Regions from separate parts of the Homo sapiens genome. Here all the other regions are linked to region 3. The links are contacts of gene promoters, found by promoter capture Hi-C in blood cells and fetal thymus (Javierre and others, 2016). All regions are on one chromosome and are shown on one strand. Each heading gives the region's core, a stretch centred on a gene start or on the middle of the fragment in contact. The rest is flanking DNA. Distances are from core to core; before and after follow the strand shown. Region 1 has its middle 130 kb from the start of CYSLTR2. Region 2 has its middle 110 kb from the start of CYSLTR2. Region 3 holds the start of ITM2B (integral membrane protein 2B).

Evidence for each region. Contacts are between HindIII fragments. The CHiCAGO score rates a contact against its expected background, and 5 or more counts as called.
Region 1: a fragment that was not itself captured here is called in contact with the fragment with the promoter of ITM2B in region 3 in 1 of 17 cell types (neutrophils); the score reaches 6.8 in neutrophils.
Region 2: a fragment that was not itself captured here is called in contact with the fragment with the promoter of ITM2B in region 3 in 2 of 17 cell types (fetal thymus and non-activated CD4 T cells); the score reaches 5.4 in fetal thymus.

What each region holds. Positions count from the first base shown.
Region 1 is chr13:48,783,812-48,787,572 of GRCh38, forward strand. No RefSeq gene overlaps it. Among named protein-coding and RNA genes, the nearest start is that of CYSLTR2, 130 kb to the left of the region's middle. The HindIII fragment of the contact is 7,537 bases long and covers 1-3,761 here.
Region 2 is chr13:48,761,289-48,765,079 of GRCh38, forward strand. No RefSeq gene overlaps it. Among named protein-coding and RNA genes, the nearest start is that of CYSLTR2, 110 kb to the left of the region's middle. The HindIII fragment of the contact is 245 bases long and covers 1,974-2,218 here.
Region 3 is chr13:48,230,879-48,234,665 of GRCh38, forward strand. ITM2B (integral membrane protein 2B) reads left to right here and starts at 2,328. Exons shown (of 6, transcript NM_021999.5): 1 at 2,328-2,599. The coding sequence starts at 2,483. RefSeq lists silencers at 2,204-2,563, 2,574-2,783 and an enhancer at 2,839-3,536. The HindIII fragment of the contact is 15,181 bases long and covers 1-3,787 here.

The sequences.
Region 1 (3,761 bases), core at 1,068-3,567, 550 kb after region 3:
TAGGGTAATGTTCCAGGGAGGAGCGCAGCTGCCTCTGTTCCACAAAAAATATCCACAAAAGGAGCAAGGGGTAGCAGGGTACAGTAAGCCCCACTCAGCTCCCATGCACTTGGCAAGGCAGGTTTCACACACAGTGTTCTGCTTACAGCAGCTAGCTGGGTTCCAGGCAGCCTGCACTCAGAACTCAAAATTGCCCCAGGCCATAAGCCTTCCCCATAAAGACAGAAACTGCAGCTGTCAGGCCATGCCCTCCTGGTCCACCCATGAAGTGGGGCATCCAGCTTTTACACCCATGATGATAGCACACTTCCCACTCGCCCCTTGGTTCTGGCCAACAGGGTTAGTACTCACCCAAGATTATTTCACAAATATTATTTGGGAGCATCTCTCAACCTGAGACTGCAGCTCAAGTTAGCTGGCAGACTTCCATGAGGTCACCTATGAGATAGGATGAGGAATGGCTTCCCTTTATCCTTACTGGAATATGGGAGTGCACCCCCACCCCCAACCACTATGTTTATGAGCCCACTGAACAAAATTTAGGATGGCTGAAAAAGGGGCTGATGACATGCACAAGTTAGGTCAGCTTCCTGTTCTTTGTTTCACAGCTAGAATGAGCAGATAATGCATAATTACCCCAAAAACTCAGTCCGGATGCTTACTTGGGGGTCCCACCGTCAGTCTCTAAGAGGGCCTACTAGCAAGCCAAGAGATATTTTTCAAAGGTGAATTGCTCCTTTACTTGCTTCAAAACCTTAGGGGAATCCCCTGTAAAAACACCACTGCAACTTTCTACAGGCCTCAATGGACATCATAATCTGTCACAAATACTTTGGGCACTGTTACTCTGCCATTACATCCTTGACCAGTGACAATTCTCTTGTTCCAGGTTCCACTCAAAGTGCTTATCTTTCAACTAGTAATAGGTAGAAGCAGAATACCCAAACATGGTATATGTTTACTATAAAATTCAAACATTTTCACCAAGTAGTTTCTTTTGTCCCATTGGTAGTAGTTACAAGATGTAGCAACTAGTCTTTGACTTTGAAGGTTATCCCAATGTGCCTCAGACTACTTAGCCTCAAAAAACTTCTCTGAGGTATCAAGCCTAATGTTTTATAGGTTTTATCTCCTAACAGCTGGCATCCTCCAACATAGCAACACATATTGGGTTACAGCAACTTTTTGCTCCCCCGACGTCTATCTCATCTATGTCATGGGACACCATGCTTTTCTATGAGATGATGAGATAATCAAGTTCCCTGCAAACTAACTTGTGGCACAAGGTCAGAAAATTGATGTAACCCAGAGGCAATACCGTGAAGGTATGCTGTCTTCCCACTAAGTAAAAGCAGATTACCTCTGGTGTTTTCTGCTTTTGGGGGTAGAGATCAATAGCTACATACCACCACATGCCATGAGATGTCTATACATGTCTCAGTAAAGAGACCATATCTACAAGAGTAATTGCAATTGGAATCACTCCCTGATTGAGGTTACAATAACTTTCTGTCATTATCCAAAGCCTGTTCATTTTTAATACTGGCCAAAATGTCAAAAAGGTATGTGAAAGTACAGTCATCCCTTGGTATCTGTGAGGGATTGGTTCCAGAACCTCCCACAGATACCAAAATCCATGAATGTTCAAGTCCCTGATATAGGCAAATGGCATAGTATTTGCATACAACATATACACATCCTCCCATATACTTTAAATCATCTCTAGATTACTTATGATACCTAATACAATATAAGTGCCATGTAAATAGTTGTCATACTGTATTGTTTAGAGAATAATGACAAGAAAAAACATCTGTACATGTTTGGTACAGATGCAATTTTTTCTCAAATATTTTTTATTTGTGGCCAGTTGAATCCATGGATACAGAATCCACAGATATAGAGGGCTGACTGTATATCTTTTCAGGTCCATAATGATGGAATTTATGTTGTTAATTTTACCAAATACTATGGATTGAATTGTGTTCCCCCAAAATTCATATGTTAAAGCCCTAACCCCCAGTGTGATTTTATTTGGAGATAGAGTCTTTAGCAGATTATTAAGGTTAAGTGAGGTCCTAAAAATAGAGTCCTAATGTTGCAGAACTGTGGCCTTATAAGAAAAGGAAGATTCTCTCTCTCTCTCTCTCTCTCTCTCTCTCTCTCTCTCTCTCTCTCTCTCCCCTTTCCTCTGTCTGGCTTTTTGTGGCTGTGTGTTTGTTGTTTAACCGGTAGATTGAACCCAGTGTTTCTGCCAAATGAAATGCATGGATCAATGCAGCTTGATCTAAAGTTATATTCTTTACTCTTTGGTTTAGTACCTCCACATCTATTTCCACAAGTATTCAAAATATTTGCTGATATAAACTGGTAACCTTTTGCAATTGTTTAGTTATGAAGTCTTTTCCTTCTGGGTTTGACTTTGTAATTGGATTCCCGGTCACGCTGGGTTCTGACCCTGGTTTGAAGTGTAAAAATAATGAGAAGGAGGGAAGATGGGGTTTGAGGAGAATTGGTCAACCCTTTCCAGGTAATTAGCTTAGATAAGGTCATTTTAAAGTTTCAAGCAAAATAACCATAGCCTCATAAGACTGTAAAGACAGCCTGCTTCCACTGACAAGAGAGTGCCAGTGGGGTTTTGCTGTGGAGTGTACTCTAAATATGGGGGAACATATTCACTTTTTTACAGTGTGCTCCAACATTCCTTCATTCCAGATTTCAGGGTTCCAGTCTTTCCCAAACAATGCCTGAATTCTCATACAAGAAACCTGGCAAAACTGTGACTTCAACTCATGTTATAATTCAAAAACCCTTTGGTGTCAAATTTTGAGGGCTTTTGTTTGTTCATTGATTTGGTTTGTTGGTTTATTCTTTTTGTTTTTATTTTTTTTATTTTTTTCGGTTCTAAATTACTGGCTTAAAGCATGGACTGAAGATCAGGAATTGGAACTTGTTAGTTTCTCTTTGTAAGTGTCCAGACCATGGGAAACAAGCCTCCCATTCCTAGCGCTGATTTTCATACCATTCAGAGTTCTTGATTGCAAGCAACATAATCCAACTCTAGCTAATTGGAGCAAAGAAATAGTTTATTAAAAAGTTATTTGGCGGCCGGGCATGGTGGCTCACGCCTGTAATCCCAACACTTTGGGAGGCCGAGGAGGGCGGATCACGAGGTCAGGAGATTGAGACCATCCTGACTAACACGGTGAAACCCCGCCTCTACTACTAAAAAAAAATGAAAAAAGAAAAAAAGTTATTTGGCAACTCTCCAACTTATCATGAGGGCTGGAAAACAACGTTCAGGACTACTCAGGCAAGAACAATACCCCAAATCACACTTCAGAGGGGGCCCTGTGAGTTCACATGGGCAACACTGCTGAGCACTAGATGCTGGCACTTGTACCCTCCACACTGCTGTCCCTCTCTATGACATGCTGTCACTCGTCATGCCACTGCTGCCTGAAAAACTTGATTTTTCTGAAAATACTACTGCTGCTCTGTCCCCAAAGAGAGTTCCCTGTGATGCTCATGAGTCATAGATGCATCTGGTCTGCTGAGCCTAGGTCATATACCTGGTCCCTAGCTGTAAGGGAGGCTGGAAAAGTGGGTGTCTGGTATTTTCAGCTCTTCAGGGAAAGATACCTTCATCAAATAGATGAATTTCTCCAACTCACCCCTAGAAAGGGGTTTCAGATCCTAGACAGCCAAAATAAATGTAAATGTCCACTACAGTAAGCAGCAAGGATAACAATAGCCAATAA
Region 2 (3,791 bases), core at 846-3,345, 530 kb after region 3:
AGTGAGGTACATTACTGGCCAATTTCATGTGCTATTTGAATACCTTTTTGCATGAAAATAAGAATTATGTAAAACAGAATCTTGTTTCTGTTCATCCTTCCTGCCCCATTCCCTTTGGTGCTTCTGTGGATGGGATGAGTCATTCTCGGCTACAACTGGACCAGAGAGTTTATTTTAAAATACACGACAAAAGTTGATTGTGCATTTTTTCTTCTGGCATTTCTTCATATTGGTTTCAGCCTGCTCATTTTCTACCATGTTTTTTTCCCTCTGCCTGGATATAAACTTTCCTGTTCCAGCAGCTGCTGGCAGATGCCTATAGTTTATAAAATAGTACAAAAGATGTAAGAACTATATCTGAGAATGGCCACTTTTAATGACAAATTAATTTGTGCTCTGGATAATTTTTTTTATTAAATGGGCACAGAGGAACAGGCTTTTCTGCCCACTAGGTGACTTACTCCTCTGTTTGCTGGAAGAATCATTGATCATCTGCTGTTATTAGCAGTATCCACCTAACCCAGCACCTGAGTACAACTTTTAGAAATGAGGTTAAATAATCTGATTCCGGAGAGACAAATCGTTTAGGGTCAATAGTGACAGATAGGACCTATTTTAATCTGATTCCAGAGAGACAAATTGTTTAGGATCAATAGTGACAGATAGGACCTATTTCCAGCCAGAAACCACAATTGTGATTTCCTCAGTACTCCCTTGAAAAAGTAACAAAGAGCAAACATGAACTAAGCATTTTCCAGACAGATTTGTAGAGCTGGGGTTATTTACAGCGTTCCAAGTTCCAGTCTGCAATGAACATTAATAATTCTTGATTTCTTTAGTGAGTCCAGTGCCCTTCTTTAGTGAGTCCAATGTCCATTTGAACCACAGGAGATGTCAGCCACAGGAGAGACTGTAAGAATGTCGGGCCAAATATTTTAGAGATGAAAGATTAATGCTCACCAGTGTTAGAACACTCCCAGCTCTTTCTATCTTTGCTTTTCCACCTGCTCTTCTTCCCTGCCTGGTGAACTCATCCTCATCCTTCAAGGTCCAGCTCAAGAGATACTTCTGTGAAGGTTCCTCTGACTTCTCATATCGGGAGATGAGAGCCCTGGACATAATGTTATTGTGTTTATTGTTCTCTTGAGGTCACTTAGCCATGGCCTAGCTTTCTCACTAGACTAAAAACCCCTTAAGGTGAGACTGTCTCTCTTATTTGTCCCTCTCTCACAGCCTATAGAAGTTCCTGATGACACATAGCTTGTACTCAATCAATAGATGGTGAATTCAGAAGCCTATGTAAATAACACTGGGGGGATAGACAGGAATCAGCATTTCTTAAGGATGCCCCATGTGTCCAGCACTTGCACATATTATCTCATTAAATCTTCTCAACAACCTTCCAAGATAAATATAAATATGATTATTGGGACTCAGAAGTAGTAAGGATCTTAATAAGACCCTTAGGTAATAAGAGACAGGGCTGAAAGTCAAACCTGGATCTCTTTGACTCCCAATCACATTCTCTCTCCACTCCACGGTAAGCTGAGTTACCTTAAAAGCTTCCTGTAAAAAAGAACAATATATTCATTTGCCTTAAATAGAACATGCTAACGAGCACAAATCACTTCATTTGGAAATTGCCATTCTGAAGATATTAACTTAATTTTAGTCTCTCATATGCAAAACTTTTGAAGAGTGTAAGTATCCTTAAGTGCACAGGGAAGTGGTTCTTTCAGGAAAAATTTGAGTATGGCCCATGCACATATTCAGTGTCATCATTAAATTAAAAGTATTAAGTGGTTTCATTACATAGGAATCCATGTCATGGTAAGTTTCTTTCAGAGGACCAGTTTAGAAATGCAGCCCAGGATGTGTCAGTACCTCTCAAAAGGAGAAACATCCTACAGTAATAATAACAAAGTGATCTCAACCTAGCAAAGATTATAATAGAATAGCCCCATTTATAGATAAGCTTAGATCTTAGAGAAGGAAGGTGAGGAGGAGTAGGAGTCACCTTTCATCAGCACTTACTATATGCCAGGGACTGTGCTAAGTATTACTGGCCTCAGCTCGATTCCCTGCAAGAACTCCATGACATAGACACTTATCCTCATTTTGAGTATAAAGAAGCAGGGGTTTAGGGAGGTTAAATGACTTCTCTTAGTCCCACTGCTTGTAAATGACTCTTGCAGTCTTAGACTGACACCAAAATTTAAGCTTCTCTACTAACACCAAAAGACAGTAAAAATAGTGGGGGTGTTAACTGTGACAGCCCTTTTAAAATACATTGTCAGCATCTATGAAAATTTAAATGTGCATACCCTACAACTCAAAAATTCTACTTCTTAGTGTTAGCTCAAGAAAAATTCTTGCACATGTGTACAAAATTGTTTGTGATAGCAGAAAACTGGAAACAATTTTTAGGTTTATGTCCTTCCAAAGGAAAATCACTTTAAAAAGTGATACTGTATCCATGCTATGGAATAATGCATACCTGTCAAGTTCTCAAAGACATAATGTTGCTGTAGAGGTAGCAGATGGTAGTATGATACAATAAAATACTACACAAAATCCACATCTTAAAACATTAGCATATATGCATATATGTATATTTGCAAAATTGATGGAAAGAGAATGGAAGGATACAGACCAATCTAATAGCAGTGGTTACCTTCATTGTTGGGGTAGGAAATGGACCAGGATTGCAGGGAGTGGGCAAAGGGAATTTGAGCCTTATTTGTAATGCAAAATGAATGCTTCCTTCCTCCTTTTCTCCCTCTCTTCTTCCTGGTTCAGTTTCAAACCTCATTCTACCATGAGCATATCTGATTGGCAGACTCTAACCCATATCCAGAAGCCTAACTACAAGGAAGTCTGGAAATGTCAGTTTTAGCTTTCTACCCTCCCCTTGCTATCATAGAAAAGGGTTGGGCTGCATGCTGAGCTCTCAATACACACAATAATAATTCAGGCAATAAATACTTTGGCCAAATTTCCAAATAAAATCAGGTTAAAGGAAAATGATAGAATTGTGAATCACATGGATTTTTATATAACTTCTTTCTCTATGAAGTCAACTATAATCTGAAACTGCAATGGTATAAGCACACAAGAGAAAGAAGCCATGCAAAAGATCTTGAACTTTTATGAACTCTGACATTTCTGTTATCCTCCCCAGGGTGCTACTCCTCTATCTAACCTGTTGAAAGACAGCCCCATGAAAGAAGCATCTATTTGGTGCTATTATAAGTGAATTGTTTTCATAATTCATTTAAGTTATTTAAAAATGTATCTAGAAATGCAACTGATTTTTGTGCATCAGCTTTGTATCCTGCCACTTTCTTGAAATCGTTTATTAGCCCTAGCAGTTTTTTGGTGGAATCTTTTGGGATTTCTACAGATAAAATTATATCATCTGTGAATAGATCATGTGACTTCTTCCTTCCAATTTGTATGCCTTCAGTTTAATTTAATTTTTGTCTAATTGCTCTGACTAGAACTCCCAGTATTATGTTGAATAGTAATGGTGAGAGTGGGTATCCTTGTCTTATTCTTTATCTTAGATGAAAAGCCTTCAGTCTTTTCCTATTGAGTATGATGGTCTACAGCCATACCACCCTGAACATGCCTGACCTCATCTGATCTCAGAAGCTAAGAAAGGTCGGGCCTGGTTAGTACTTGGATGGGAGTATAATGTTAGCTGTGGGCTTTTCATATATGGATTTTATTATATTGTTTATTATATATATTGAAGGTAGTTTTCTTCTCTTCCTAGTTTGTTCAGTGTT
Region 3 (3,787 bases), core at 1,078-3,577:
CTGAATAAGGAATTGTTTCCTTGAGAAAGAACAGACAGAATAGAGATGTAAAGAACCTAAAAAGAAAAAAAAAATCCCTGTTGAAGCACATAATGCAAATCTATTAAAATATTTTAGAATTCAGTTCCCCACTTCCATTTTTTCCTCCCTCCTTTGGTAAGCATAAAAACAAACATGGTTGCTGGTGATATGCAGAGCTGGAATCAGATTCATCTTGCTCTCTCAAACTCAACGTCAAAAAGGAAAACAAAGGTCCTCTAAGACTCCCTTTACATTTGGTAGTTAATAGTAACTTATAACTATGTTTTTAACTTTCTTTTGTTGAGTCATGGACTCTCCTCCTCCCTGGCTCCTAAGTTTTCAGGGTCAACGGGCAACCTTTTCTAAATCACAAGACTGGATTTGCTATGTTTGGTCTTGCTCCAGCGTCTTTATTATCCCTGCTGTTGTGCACTACACAGTTCTGTAGACACATGAGATAAAATGGAGAAAAAAAACCAGGAGATTATTCCCAGACCGGTTGCCAACTGATTTTAAACTGTTGCTCACTGCAAGTACACAAAATAATGAATGGTCTTTTATTCATGAGTCTTTCAAAATAGAAATCCTGGGGCGGGGAGGATTTCTAGTTTTGTCAACCTCATTTGTTCATCCTTTGCCTCAGCTTCCTAGTCTGTTCAGTAGTGTTGTTCACGAAGAATTTTGTTTTATTTTCTTCTGTAATTCCTTTTTTCCCCCCGGAGTATAATGACAGCCAGATTCTTCTCTATCATCTACTGCAAAATGCCTTGAGTATTTTTCTACCATCTTATTTTAACACAGAACGAAGTAGGAAGGATGTACATATAATTATTTATAATCCTCCAGATCTTGCTTCCAGAAATACTTAGTCTTCAACTGTAATGTCTCAGGGAACCTATTAAACTAGGGAGCTGGAAGCAGTCGTTGACTTTGAGGAATTAGATAACATTAGATACTATGAAAGTCCAGTCCATAGAGTCAACCTCACAGAGCCGATGCCTGCACAAGGGCGACCCAGGAGTTTAAATAAGTTGCTGCAAGTATGGTTAGCTACTGTTAAAACTCACCAGAACTGGAACCTAACTCATCCTCCTCTTGGTTGAGCAGATTTCATTTTGACAGGAATTTCTGAATACCCAAAGCAAACTCAAAGTCTGGCCTGGGTTTCTATCTCAGCCCAGGATGCTTCTGAAATACATGAACAGAAGGATTTGGAGATCTTGGGCTGTTTCCCTGGGACTTATGATCTGACATTCTATGGAAATACCCAACTCCCTCCTTGAGCAGGGCCAAATCCCCAAAGATCTCAGACTGAACCCACTTTTTTCAGGGTTGGCCCAAGGCAGAGCTGACACAGCTGTAACATTCTAGAGCACACCCACAACTCTGGATGAACCAGGACAGAATGGGGTGGAAGGATACAAGATAACACATTTGTCCAAGGGGGCCGTCTGTTGACACAGTAATGAACGCAGTAACGACGGGAGCCAGTATTCTACCTCGCATTAGTTGTAAATGAAACGTCTTCAAAACATGAGAATTTTGCGTTATCCTTAATTATTTTTTCATTTTGCAGAAAAATAAAGGGACTCGTCATCGAGTACTTTGAGTCACAAATCAGCCAAGTGTGCATGTGGTTTTTTTCCAAGTACGCACAAGAGTGGAACATTTCGTTTTACGAGTGTGAGATGTTTGAAATACAAATCTGCCAAGAGCTTCCTCCACATTGGTCTGGGACTAGGCAGAACAGGCCCTGACCTCCTGAGAGAGGGAAGGAAGACCAGGCAGGTCTGAGCCAGGTAAACGCCCTTGGGTGAGGTCCGTGAAAGATAAAGTCAGATCTCAAGGACAGAGAGCTTTAAACATGTTTGTGCTCCACTGAGTCGGTTACCTAATAAGTGAGAAAATGAAGATGTGGATGCACAAAAATTCCATGGCCTTTAGGCTCGCGGTGGGGACAGGGTACAGGGAAGCGGCGGTCTGGTGCTGCCAAAGGTTAGTCCCTTGTACCCGGCGAACTCAGGAAAGTTCACTCGATTTCGCTACAAACCTGCAGCACTCGGCCTGGAGGTAACCTGGTTGGGAGCGAATTCAGAACTGGAAATTCCAGGCGGCCCAGAGGGACACCCATCCCTCTCCGAGGCGCGCCGGGATCCGGCGCCCAGCTGCGGGGCGAGGGCAGGGTCCCGCGCAGCACCCCACCCCCGGCCGCTGGCCCCGCCCCCGCCCCCGCCCCGCCTCCCAGGGGATGTGCGAGCAGTCTCCGCCCTCGCGCGGGAGCTGGGAGGCTGCGAGATCCCTACCGCAGTAGCCGCCTCTGCCGCCGCGGAGCTTCCCGAACCTCTTCAGCCGCCCGGAGCCGCTCCCGGAGCCCGGCCGTAGAGGCTGCAATCGCAGCCGGGAGCCCGCAGCCCGCGCCCCGAGCCCGCCGCCGCCCTTCGAGGGCGCCCCAGGCCGCGCCATGGTGAAGGTGACGTTCAACTCCGCTCTGGCCCAGAAGGAGGCCAAGAAGGACGAGCCCAAGAGCGGCGAGGAGGCGCTCATCATCCCCCCCGACGCCGTCGCGGTGGACTGCAAGGTCCGAGCCCGGGGAGGTCGAGGAAGCGGGTGCTGGGCCCGGCCGGGGAGGGCTGCGCGGACTGCAGCGGCAGTGCGCCCCGAGGTGGCGGGCGCGGGGCTCGCGCCGCGGGGACAAGTCCCCGAGAGAGCCCGGCGCTCCCGTTTCCTGTGGGTCCGCAGCTCCTTTGTAAGGAAGTGCGTGTGCTGGAAGCGGTGCCTGACGCGGGGTCGGGGGCTTGGGAGGCCTGGAGAGGGAACGATTGGCTAATTGTGCCGAATTCCCGGTCGTTTGTGCAGTCCGGGGAGCGTGCGTGCAGCCAGGACTTGGCTTGTTCGATCTGGGGACCGGCAGCGACAGGCACAACAACAACAACCGAGTTTGGCACTTCCTTCCCAGTATAAATAATGTACCTAAAATGGCTGACATCATTACAAGCCTAAACCTCTGTTGTTTCCCACTTTCGTTTCTAGGCTTGAACAGCACTTGGACTAAGTCCAGCAACTGTAAGCGTCTTAATTTTAAAAGCGTTTCTTTACCTCCTTTTTCCACGGCCCTTCGGTAGTGGCAGGTGAACTTCACCTGGAGAGGGGACGAAGGGACAGTCCGCCCGAAGTAGGTTTGGGCTGTCTCTTACCATTACTAGTAAAGGCCAGTAATGACTATGTGGATGTTAGTGAAAAACCAATTGTTGGCATTTAAATTGTATCAGCGTCTTTGTGAGGACTCCTGCTGCGTGAAACTAAACATGAGAAATTTGCCCCCGGGTCCCTAATAAAATTCTCCTTTATTTTACAAAATCTCCCTTTAATCCTAGGAAAATTCATGAAGTGGGGCTGTTACTGTGTTGACTTTTAGTAGGTTACGATCATATTTACTTAAATATGAGTGTAATTGTCTCATAAGTTAAAAAAGCCCACAGCCTCTTACCCAGACCCTTTTTAGGCTGCAAAAATTAGAAATTAACTGTAAAGTTATGTTGCTTATCTTATTTTTTGTTGTTGTTAGCATTTTTCAAGACCTATTATCAGTAGGGTAAATTTAGTTTTAACTTAAAAAAATTGGTGTGCCACGTATGAATAATGGGAGTTTTTATATGGACGAATGAAAATTATTGCTGAAAAACAGGCCACTAATATACTGTAAAAAATTCACAATATAATGGTAATCTAGACATCATATTATAATTTATTATATTCTGAATATAAT